Regions from separate parts of the Homo sapiens genome. Here region 1 is linked to region 2. Evidence: promoter capture Hi-C in 16 types of primary human blood cells and fetal thymus (Javierre and others, 2016). All regions are on one chromosome and are shown on one strand. Each heading gives the region's core, a stretch centred on a gene start or on the middle of the fragment in contact. The rest is flanking DNA. Distances are from core to core; before and after follow the strand shown. Region 1 holds the start of ATIC (5-aminoimidazole-4-carboxamide ribonucleotide formyltransferase/IMP cyclohydrolase). Region 2 holds the start of RPE (ribulose-5-phosphate-3-epimerase).

The links. The method cuts DNA at HindIII sites, captures the fragments that hold promoters and counts their contacts. A CHiCAGO score of 5 or more calls a contact.
Region 1: a contact is called between the fragment with the promoter of ATIC here and the fragment with the promoter of RPE in region 2, in 3 of 17 cell types (activated CD4 T cells, naive CD8 T cells and total CD4 T cells). The highest score is 7.2, in activated CD4 T cells.

The regions. Positions count from the first base shown.
Region 1 is chr2:215,308,570-215,313,326 of GRCh38, reverse strand. ATIC (5-aminoimidazole-4-carboxamide ribonucleotide formyltransferase/IMP cyclohydrolase) reads right to left here and starts at 1,268. Exons shown (of 16, transcript NM_004044.7): 1 at 1,166-1,268; 2 at 703-829. The coding sequence starts at 1,184. It overlaps LOC124907975 (a long non-coding RNA gene), which reads left to right and starts at 1,355. Exons shown (of 2, transcript XR_007088075.1): 1 at 1,355-2,648. RefSeq lists silencers at 924-1,293, 1,304-1,383 and an enhancer at 914-1,564. The HindIII fragment of the contact is 8,450 bases long and covers 1-4,757 here.
Region 2 is chr2:210,000,139-210,005,190 of GRCh38, reverse strand. RPE (ribulose-5-phosphate-3-epimerase) reads right to left here and starts at 2,553. Exons shown (of 6, transcript NM_199229.3): 1 at 2,408-2,553. The coding sequence starts at 2,529. RefSeq lists enhancers at 2,285-2,454, 2,495-2,544. The HindIII fragment of the contact is 5,690 bases long and covers 529-5,052 here.

The DNA.
Region 1 (4,757 bases), core at 19-2,518, 5.3 Mb before region 2:
TAAGGGAAGGCAGGTAAATTGGAATCTTCATGATGTCGAGTTTTATTAAATCACCAGTCAAAGTAACTGAAGTTTTCCTTGCATAACAAGTGGCCCACCTAAGTTAATCTGTTTAAGGAAGGGGCTAAGACTAGTGTCCTAAAATCAGGAACAGCACGGGTTCCAATCCTACTTTTCCCTTACTCAACTGTTTAAACTTGTGCAGAAGATGCTAAATCTGTCCAGTGTGTTGTCCAGGGTCTTTCTCTGTCACCCAGGATGGAGTGCAGTAGTGCCATCTCGGCTCACCACAACCTCCGCCTCCTAGGTTCAAGCGATTCTCCTGCCTCAGCCTTCCCAGTAGCTGGGATTACAGGCGTGTGCCACCATACCGGCTAATTTTTGTATTTTTAGTAGAGACGGGTTTCACCATGTTGGCCAGGCTGGTCTCGAACTCTTGACCGTAAGTGATCAGCCCACCTCGGCCTCCCAAAGTGCTGGGATTACATGCGTGAGCCACCTAGCCCAGCCGTCCAGGGTCTTAAAAGTTGCTAAATCTCTCTGAGCCTCACTTTTTTTCCCCATAAAGTGGGGAAGTATTACACCAACCTCACAGCGCTACTGGGAGGAGTAAATAAGGCGTTTTGCTGCTGGTGCCTGGAATACAATACTTCCTGGTTAATGTGATCACACTCCTTTCTGATGGAACTAGCTATGCCTTACCTGACTGCCAGACCAGCATCCCTGAGAGCTTTTGCAGTCCCTCCGGAAGCGACCAGATTCAAACCAAGAGCGGTCAGGTTTCTTGCAAATTCCACAAGGCCGGTTTTGTCAGAGACACTAAATAAGGCTGAAAGAGAAGACATTTTTTCTCATGATTCGCAGCACATTGCACTGTGTTCTGCAAGGCCTTGGGAGGGTCTGGGGGAGGAGATTCTCGAATCGCAAGGCCAGCACCTGGACCCTGCGTTCGCAGGCCTGGTCCGGGCCTCCCCAGGTCTTACACCCGCGAGCTGCTCTAAGGCGGGCCCCACGCAGGCTGCGGCCCGGCCGGGGAGCGGGGACGCTGGCTTTCAATCCCGCAGCGCCGCCCCTGCAGTGCCGGGTCCCGCCGGCCGCCGCCAAGGCGGGAGCGTGGGGGGCCGCAGGCGAGGACGCAGACCGCGCCGCTCCGCTAGGGCCTCACCGAGCTGGCCGGGAGCCATGGCTGCAGGCACTGGGTTCAGGGCGAGCGGGAGGCAGCAGCGGCGGCACCACGTGCGCAGGTAGGAGGGCTGCCGGGATGTGGCGGCTCAGGAAGCGAGGGGGCGGAGCTGTTTCCGGGCTTATCACGTGGCCCGCCGGCCCTGCCCGGCGCCCTGCTCTGCTCAGTTTCAGATGCAAGATCCGCGCCCCGGGGCTGAAGGGAACGGCGGGATGGGGTGGGGCTCTGCCTGGCGCGCCTGGGCGGAGTGCTTGGGCTGGAAGGGATCCTGCCTGCGATCCCGAAGTCCAGGCGTGGGAGCCAGCGATCTGCCCACGACCCCAAAGTGAGGCCACTCCACGGCCTCTGGGGCAAATGCCTGTTATTCTAGGCAGCCGGTCCCCAGAAGCTGGAAAGTACGTAAAAGTGCCAGAAGCTCCCATGCTGAAAACTAAACAAAAGGAATAGTTCATATAGCGGCAAAGCTGGAAAGTATCTGGACAGTTATCTACCATCCTCCCTTTTTGTTTGTTGTTTTTTTGTTTTTCTGGGTTTTTTTGTTTTTTTTGTTTTTTTTTTTTTTTTTTGAGATGGAGTTTCGCTTTTGTTGCCCAGGCTGGAGTGCAATGGCGCGATCTCGGCTATGTCACGTGCAACCTGCAACCTCCACATCCCGGGTTCAAGAGTTTATCCTGCCTCAGCCTCCCGAGTAGCTGGAATTATAGGCAGGCGCCACGATGCCCGGCTAATTTTTGTATTTTTAGTAGACATGGGGTTTCGCCATGTTGGCCAAGCTGGTCTCAAACTCCTGACCTCAGGTGATCCGCCTGCCTCGGCTTCCCAAAGTGCTGGGATTACAGGGGTGAGCCACCATGCCCAACTTGTTTTTTGTTTGTTTGCTTGCTTGCTTGTTTGCTTGTTTGTTTTGAGACAGGGTCTCGCTCTGTCTCCCAGACTGGAGAGCAGTGGCACCATCTCAGCTCACTGCAACCTCTGCCTCCCAGGTTCAAGAAATTCTCCTGCCTCTGCCTCCACACCCGTCTAATTTTTTGTTGTTGTTGTACTTTTTTTTTTTTTTTTTTGTATATTTAGTAGAGATGGGGTTTCACGGTGTTGGCCAGGCCGGTCTTCAACTCCTGACCTCAAATGATCTGTCCACCTCAGCCTCCCAAAGTGCTGGGATTACAGGTGTGAGCCACCGTGCCCGGCCCCATCCTCCTTTTTAATAGGCTTAAAAAATAAAACCAAGGACCAATGATTTAAGTGAGGGACTCCAGAGGCCACAGATGACAGTCAAAACGAAGTGAAATTGACATTCGTTGTTGATTTTCACGTCATAAAATTATAATTTAAATATTAATTTATAATACTATTTTATACAATTTAGTCAGTATTGTAAAAGTGCCTAAAAACTACTTAAAGATGGTGTCTTCTTGCAAACCTGTAAATATTCCTGGATGAGAGGAATGATGACAGTCAAAAGAAGGTAAGAGAAGACCTTTCTTAATTCATTAAAAACAGGGAAAGCAAAATTGAACACATTTGTTTCTTTCTAAAAATGACACCTTTGCCACAAAATAAATACATATTGTGGTCTATGAGTCTTTTTTGTGTTATTAGAATTATATTCCAAAGTAATAGCATTGTTTATCTTTTAGTCTGAGCTCACAGCTGTAAAAATGAGTCTATTTTCTCATTATCTGCATGCTATTTATTTTTGTTTTTCCTCTTCCTTTCTCTAATTCTTCCCATCTCTTTACTCCCCAAAATAAATACCTATTGACTAGAATCAATTTTTTTTTTTTTTTTTGAGACAGAGTCTCGCTCTGTCACCCACACTCTCGCTCTGTCACCCACACTGGAGTGCAGTAGCGCGATCTCGGCTCACTGCAACCTCTGCCTCCCAGGTTCAAGCGATTCTCCTGCCTCAGCCTCCCGAGTATCTGGCACTACAGGCGCGTGCCACCATGCCTGGCTAATTTTTGTATTTTTAGTAGAGATGGGGTTTCGCCATGTTGGCCACGCTGGTCTCGAACTCCTGACCTCAGGTGATCCACCTGCCTTGGCCTCCCAAAGGGCTGGGATTGCAGGCGTGAGCCACCGCGTCCAGCCTGGAATCAATTTTTTGACCTCTAAATATGTTAGCCCTTTGCTCTGAACACTTCTCACATTCCTACGAGGAATATATTAAGATTATCGCATGTCTTCAGTGTGTTTGCCAAATTTGAATTTAAAAAGGATATTTCCTTGGCCAGTCACCATCAGGTTTTTACAGGAAATCGAAAGCAAGGAAAGGAGAAAACAATGCTGACATTTATTGATAAGGGGAAATAAACAGTTGCTTCGGCATTATGCATTTGTCTGTCATGTGAATTACAAATATTTATTCGATTCAATACATTTTTATTGAGCCTTTTCTGCTTGGATGGCAGAAACTCAGTGTCAGAAGACAGATAAATATCACCTAAGCACTGTCCTCAAGGAGCTCATGATGGAATGAAAATGTAGACACATGAAGTATAACTAAAAAATATTAATAGAGGCCGGGTGCGGTGGCTCACACTTGTAATCCCAGCACTTTGGGAGGTGGAGGCGGGCGGATCACGAGGTCAGGAGATCATGACCATCCTGGCTAACACAGTGAAACCCTGTCTGTACTAAAAATACAAAAAATTAGCCGGGCGTGGTGGTGGGCGCCTGTGGTCCCAGCTACTCGGGAGGCTGAGGCAGGAGAATGGTGTGAACCCGGGAGGCGGAGCTTGCGGTGACCGAGATTGCGCCACTGCACTCCAACCTGGGCGACAGAGCGAGACTCTGTGTCTCAAAAAATTAAATAAATAGGCTGGGCGCGGTGGCTCACGCCTGTAATCCCAGCACTTTGGGAGGCCAAGGCGGGCAGATCACGAGGTCAAGAGATCGAGACCATCCTGGTTAACACAATGAAACCCCATCTCTACTAAAAATACAAAAAATTAGCCAGGTGAGGTGGCGGGCGCCTGTAGTCCCAGCTATTTGGGAGGCTGAGGCAGGAGAATGGCATGAACCCCGGGGGGCGGAGCCTGCAGTAAGCCGAGATCGGGCCACTGCACTCCAGTCTGGGCGACAGCGAGACTCCATCTCAAAAAAAAAAAAAAAAGAAGAAAAAATTAAATAAATAAATAATAATAATAGAGAAAACACGGCATTAAACTGATTTTGTAGAGCCTCTTTCATTACAGACTCTTCCATTTACAGATGTTTACTCTGGGGCCTGGTGTAGTGTCTCATGCCTGTAATCCCAGTGCTTTGGGAGGCAGAGGTAGGAGAATCACTTGAGGCCAGGAGTTTGAGACCCACCTGGGCAACATAGTGCATGCCTGCAGTCCTAACTACTTGAGAGGCTGAGGTGGGAGTTCGAGGTTACAGTGAGCTAAGGTTGCACGGCTGCATTTCGGCCTGGGCTACAGAGCAAGACCCTGTCTCTTAAATAAAATAAAATAAAAAAATAACAGGCTAGGAGTGGTGGCTCACGTCTGTAATCCCAGCACTTGGGCAAGCTGAAGCAGGTGGATCACTTGAGGTTAGGAGTTTGAGACCAGCCTGGCCAACAGGTGAA
Region 2 (5,052 bases), core at 1,304-3,803:
AGTCCACAGCCCACTTTCATAGCCCTAGCCTAGTAGACACCACAGCACATCACGTAGGGGCACTGGCACCAACTCTGCCAGGCTCTGCTGAATCTGGTGAGACATCAGGGAAGAAGCTGAATCTCCCTACACTGGTTTCCTCCTTTGCAAAAGGGGAATAGAAACAGCTCTTAACTCAGAAAGTAGAGAAGATTAAAAGGGAAATAATTTTAAAATTGTGTATGCAGAATTCAGTTTTTCCAAACCAAAGTATCTCCTGGCAAAGGGGAAGAGGAATCAATAAAAAACAAATACTTCATTTTTTATTTTTTTGTTCCCAAAACTCTGATCCATGGTAAATACTTTGCCTTACTGAGCTCAGTCTGCCATAGAGCTGCAAGGGGACAAAAGTGACTTCTGAGAGACTTCTCCTATTATGATTAAGCTATTCATTCATTCGGCCAACAATAACTAAGCACCTTATGGTGCTTTTCCAGCAAAGAATATATAGGTGAGCAAAAAGAAGATAAACTTGGCTTTCAGGAAGCTTATAGGGTAGCAGGAGAGACATGAAATAAGTTAACAAAAATAAGTATACAGTTAACAGAAATAAATACACAAATTATTAGTTGCTTTTTTGAGGCCAAACAATGTCTTAGTCATTCCCTGTAAGCCTAGGAACCACAGAAAGCATTTCATTTGAGACAACACAAGCTGTTGCATTGCTTCCAACCCTGGCTCCACCATTTCCTAGTTATGAGACCACTGGCAGATGACTTAACCTCTCTGTGCCCAATTCCTCGCTGTCAAATGCTGGTGGTAATAACACCACCAATTTCAAACGGTTGTTTGAGTTAATTCACAAAAAAACTCCAGAACAGAAACAGTCAAGTGCTCATAAACATTGCTACTATGGTTATCATTAATAATCCTGACTGGTGAACCGAAACAATTACTTTCCCCAACCATTAACTTACTCAAACATAGTTTAATTAAAACCAAATTGCTCAAATAGACTCACAAATATACACATAGCTGTTCCATCCTGTGACCCTCTAGGTATTTTCTCAGGCACAAAAATGTAGCTACTTACCTTTGAGGTAGACACTCAGGGTATTATTACCTGTGACAGTTTAGGGCTTTCAAGCAAAGATGTCAAAAATAAAGTATATAAGTATAATTACATATAATGGCCAATTAAAAGCCAACCTTTGTGAGAGGTAATATTTACTAAACTTTTTACACATTTGGCCTATTATTTTTAGTACTCTATGGTCAAAGTTTTGTCATTATCAGTTGGGTGGACTCCTAAGGTAACTGGGTAAAATGCCAAAGAGAAACAATACATTTAACCACATAGAGCAATGGAAGATAAAACTCTTCAAAGCCAGATTAACATTAAAAAGAAAAGGAAATCATCACCTTTAGAAAATAACACCAATTTGCAAACTGAATGAGGGAACACAGGGTTTTTACCTATTTAAAATAAATTTATTTTTCCATCCCCACTCAAGATAATGGTATTTATGATTTTTATAGTCAGTTAACAGTGGGGCTCAGAGAACTACTTGGCAAACCTAGGAAGAGCCAAGTTGCAAGTCTGTCACAATCTTCTGTAATCTTGAGGGAGTCTTACTGCTTTCTCTGGGGTTGTTTCCTCATTCTGTAACCAACTTCAGAAACTAATATCCTGACTCCAAACAATATTATGTGCTGTAACTACGGTGCTTAAAAATTACTTACAAAAAACTGACCTCCCTGAAGAGCAGGGTGCCTGAAGAGAAAATAGACAGGAAAATCAGAATTGTAATAATGATGTAATTAACAATTATAGAGAACTTAATATACGCCAGGCACTGTAAACTTCTCATGTACTCGCTCATTTCATCTTCCAAGATGCCTAAGCGGTAGGTTCTGTTAGTAGTTCCATTTTTCAAATTATGAAACTGAAGCTCAATGAGGTTAGTGGCTTGTCCAAGGTAACCCAGCAAGTGGCAGAACTCGGGAACCTAACCGCAGGTGCCAACTTAAATCGTTAGAGAAGTCTGTTTCCCCAGCTTTGCCACTAACTAGCTATATGAGCTTGGGCAAGTCATGCTTCTCCCCTTGGGCCTCAGTTTCTCTAGCTGAAAGTGAAGAAATGTCCTAAAGATTTAGGTCGCTTCCGGGTCCTAAGTGATGGAAGACCACACGTTACGTGGGGGGAGGGGAGGAACTGAGGTTTGGGACCCGGCCGCAACCCAGGATACCGCGTCGGTTCTGCTCCTGCTAGAGCCTCCAGGGCTCCTACCCCACACCCCTTCTAGCATCGCGTTCAGAGTGAGGCGCTCGGTGGTACAGGGACGCGGTACATCCAACAAGCAGTCAATAAAGGTGCACTGATCCGCCCCGCCGCGCGGCAAGCCCGACCGGAGCCCGGAGGAGTTACCCGTCCATTACGTCCAGGTGCAGATAATCGGCCCCAGAGTCTAGCATCCGGAGGCACTCGGCCCCTAAATTGGCCAGGTCGCTGTTGAGGATGGACGGGCCAATCTTGCAGCCCGACGCCATACCGCTGGCTCCCAAAAGCAAGTTACCCACGAGTCCCCGGCAAGGCTAGAGCGTCACCCCGATTGGGCGCGCAGTTTTGGCCCCGCCCCTTCTCCGTACAGGCTTCCGGATTCTACCGGAAGCAGCCACTCTGCGGTGAGGAAGTCCCGCCTCCTCCTGGGGTGGGGCGCTGTCAGCCGTCCGCCTGGGGCGGGGCGGGGCACACGGGCCTCGTACACCTGATTTTGACCTTCCTTCTTGTGCTGTTTGGATCTTAACGTCCTCGCAGTACTCAAGGCGTTTCTTAACCTTTTTTCACTTTGCTTCTCCTGCAGTTCCCTCTCCTCGGCTCTTGACTTAACATCACTTTTTGTTTCTCCACCCTTTGCATATGCCTTTCTTTCCTCTCCAGCGCCTATGCTGGCCCTTTAAAACAACAATTAAAAACCTTTCTTCCTCGTATTTCTCCTAGAGCTCTTCTTTTGAGCTGGAGGAACCCTGGCTCTGCCAGATACTAGCTGGGTGACCTGGCAAATCACTTCTTAACTTCGGTTTTCTCATCTGTAAAGACAGTGCCCAGCTTTAGGGTTGTATTAAATGAGTGAAGCCAGGTAATGCGCCCAGCAGGATGCCTGGTGCTCAGTACAAAATGGTAGTTATTATTATATTACCCTCTTTTTCTGCCTTTGCAGTTCCTCCTTACCTTTTTTGTTTTTCCCTCTGTTGAGGCTCAGAAAATGATAGCCCAAAGTGAAGGCCTCAGACGCAACAGTGTTTCTCTGACTTCCTGCCCTGCTCTCTTCTCAGTCTCATTCTAGGAGGCAGGTCATAGAAACTGGAGCCCATCTTCCCTAAGAAGAGTCATTGAAACCGGAACCCCCTTTCCCTGAAGCCAGACACAAAACCCAAAAGCATTACTCTAACTTTCCTCCACCTTTCTGTGTAAAAACTGGCCATAAATTATTTGACCCATCTCAACTGTAGGTTATAAAACTCCTCTTCTAGAGAAGGTTCTATCCCATATCCAGGAGGAGGGAATGCTGCACAGAGAGGCCAGGAATCTAAACTAGACTGGCCAAGGCCAGGTCAGTCTATTAGCATTAGATCGCCTATTTTGTCCAATCGTATTTCTACATGGCTGTCTATACTTTGTTGAACCTAAGTATAAAAATGGGTAATCACCCCTGTACCTTTGGGTCTTCATTCTGAAGGCTCCTGTGTCAGGTAAAACTATAATCAAATAAGTTTTTATGCCTTTTCTCCTGTTAATCTTCTTTCTGTCAGTGATTTTCAGCAAACCTTTGGAGGGTGAAGGGAAAGTTTTCCCTTGGCCCCTACACCTCTCCAATGCTCATTCACAAATTGTGATAGGTTTGTGTGCTGTTCACACACAGTTCAGAAATGGATGAGTATCCTGATGCTAAATGTGCCTAGGGTCAGGAAAAGAGACAGAAGTAAAACCACTTGGCGGGGATAAATGGACTTAGCAAGAGCAATCCTTAAGGGGTCAGAATAGAGCACTTGTACTCTGTGTAAAAGACGGAAGTGGTAACTTGGACTGAGAGGTGACAGCGTGCTGGCAGCCCTCGCTCACTCTCGGTGCCTTCTTGGCCTTGGCACCCACTCTGGCCGCGCTTGAGGAGCCTTTCAGCCCACCGCTGCACTGTGGGAGTCCGTCTGGGCTGGCCAAGGCCGGAGCTGGCTCCCTCAGCTTGTGGGGAGGTATGCAGGGAGAGGCACAGGCGGGAACTGGGACTGCAAGGCACTTGTGGGCCAGCGCGAGTTCGAGGTGGGCGTGGGCTCTGCGGCCCCGCACTTGGGTGGGCCGGCTGGCCTGCTGGCCCCGGGCAGTGAGGGGCTTAGCACCTGGGCCAGCAGCTGCTGTGCTGGATTTCTTGCCAGGCCTTAGCTGCCTCCCTCTACGGGGCAGGGCTCGGGACCTGCAGCCCACCATGCCTGAGCCTCCCCTCCATGCCGTGGGCTCCTGCGCGCCCAGCGTCCCTGAGGAGCGCCGCCCCCTGCTCCACAGCACCCAGTCCCATCGACCGCCCAAGGGCTGAGGAGTGCCGGCGCACAGTAGGGGACTGGCAGGTAGCTCCACCTGCCGCCCCAGTATGGGATCCACTGGGTGAAGCCAGCTGGGCTCCTGAGTCTGGTGGGGACTTGGAGAATCTTTATGTCTAGCTGAGGGATTGTAAATACACCAATCAGCACTCTGTATCTAGCTCAAGGTTTGTAAACACACCAATCAGCACCCTGTGTCTAGCTCAGGGTTTGTGAATGCACCAATGGGCACTCTGTATCTAGTTAATCTGGCAGGGACTTGGAGAATCTTTATGTCTAGCTAAGGGATTGTGAATGCACCAATTGGCACTCTGTATCTAGCTCAAGGTTTGTAAATGCACCAATCAGCACTCTGTGTCTAGCTCAGGGTTTGTAAATACACCAATGGACACTCTGTATCTAGCTAATCTAGTAGGAGAACTTTTGTGTCTAGCTCAGGGATTGTAAACGCACCAGTCAGCACCCTGTCAAAACGGACCA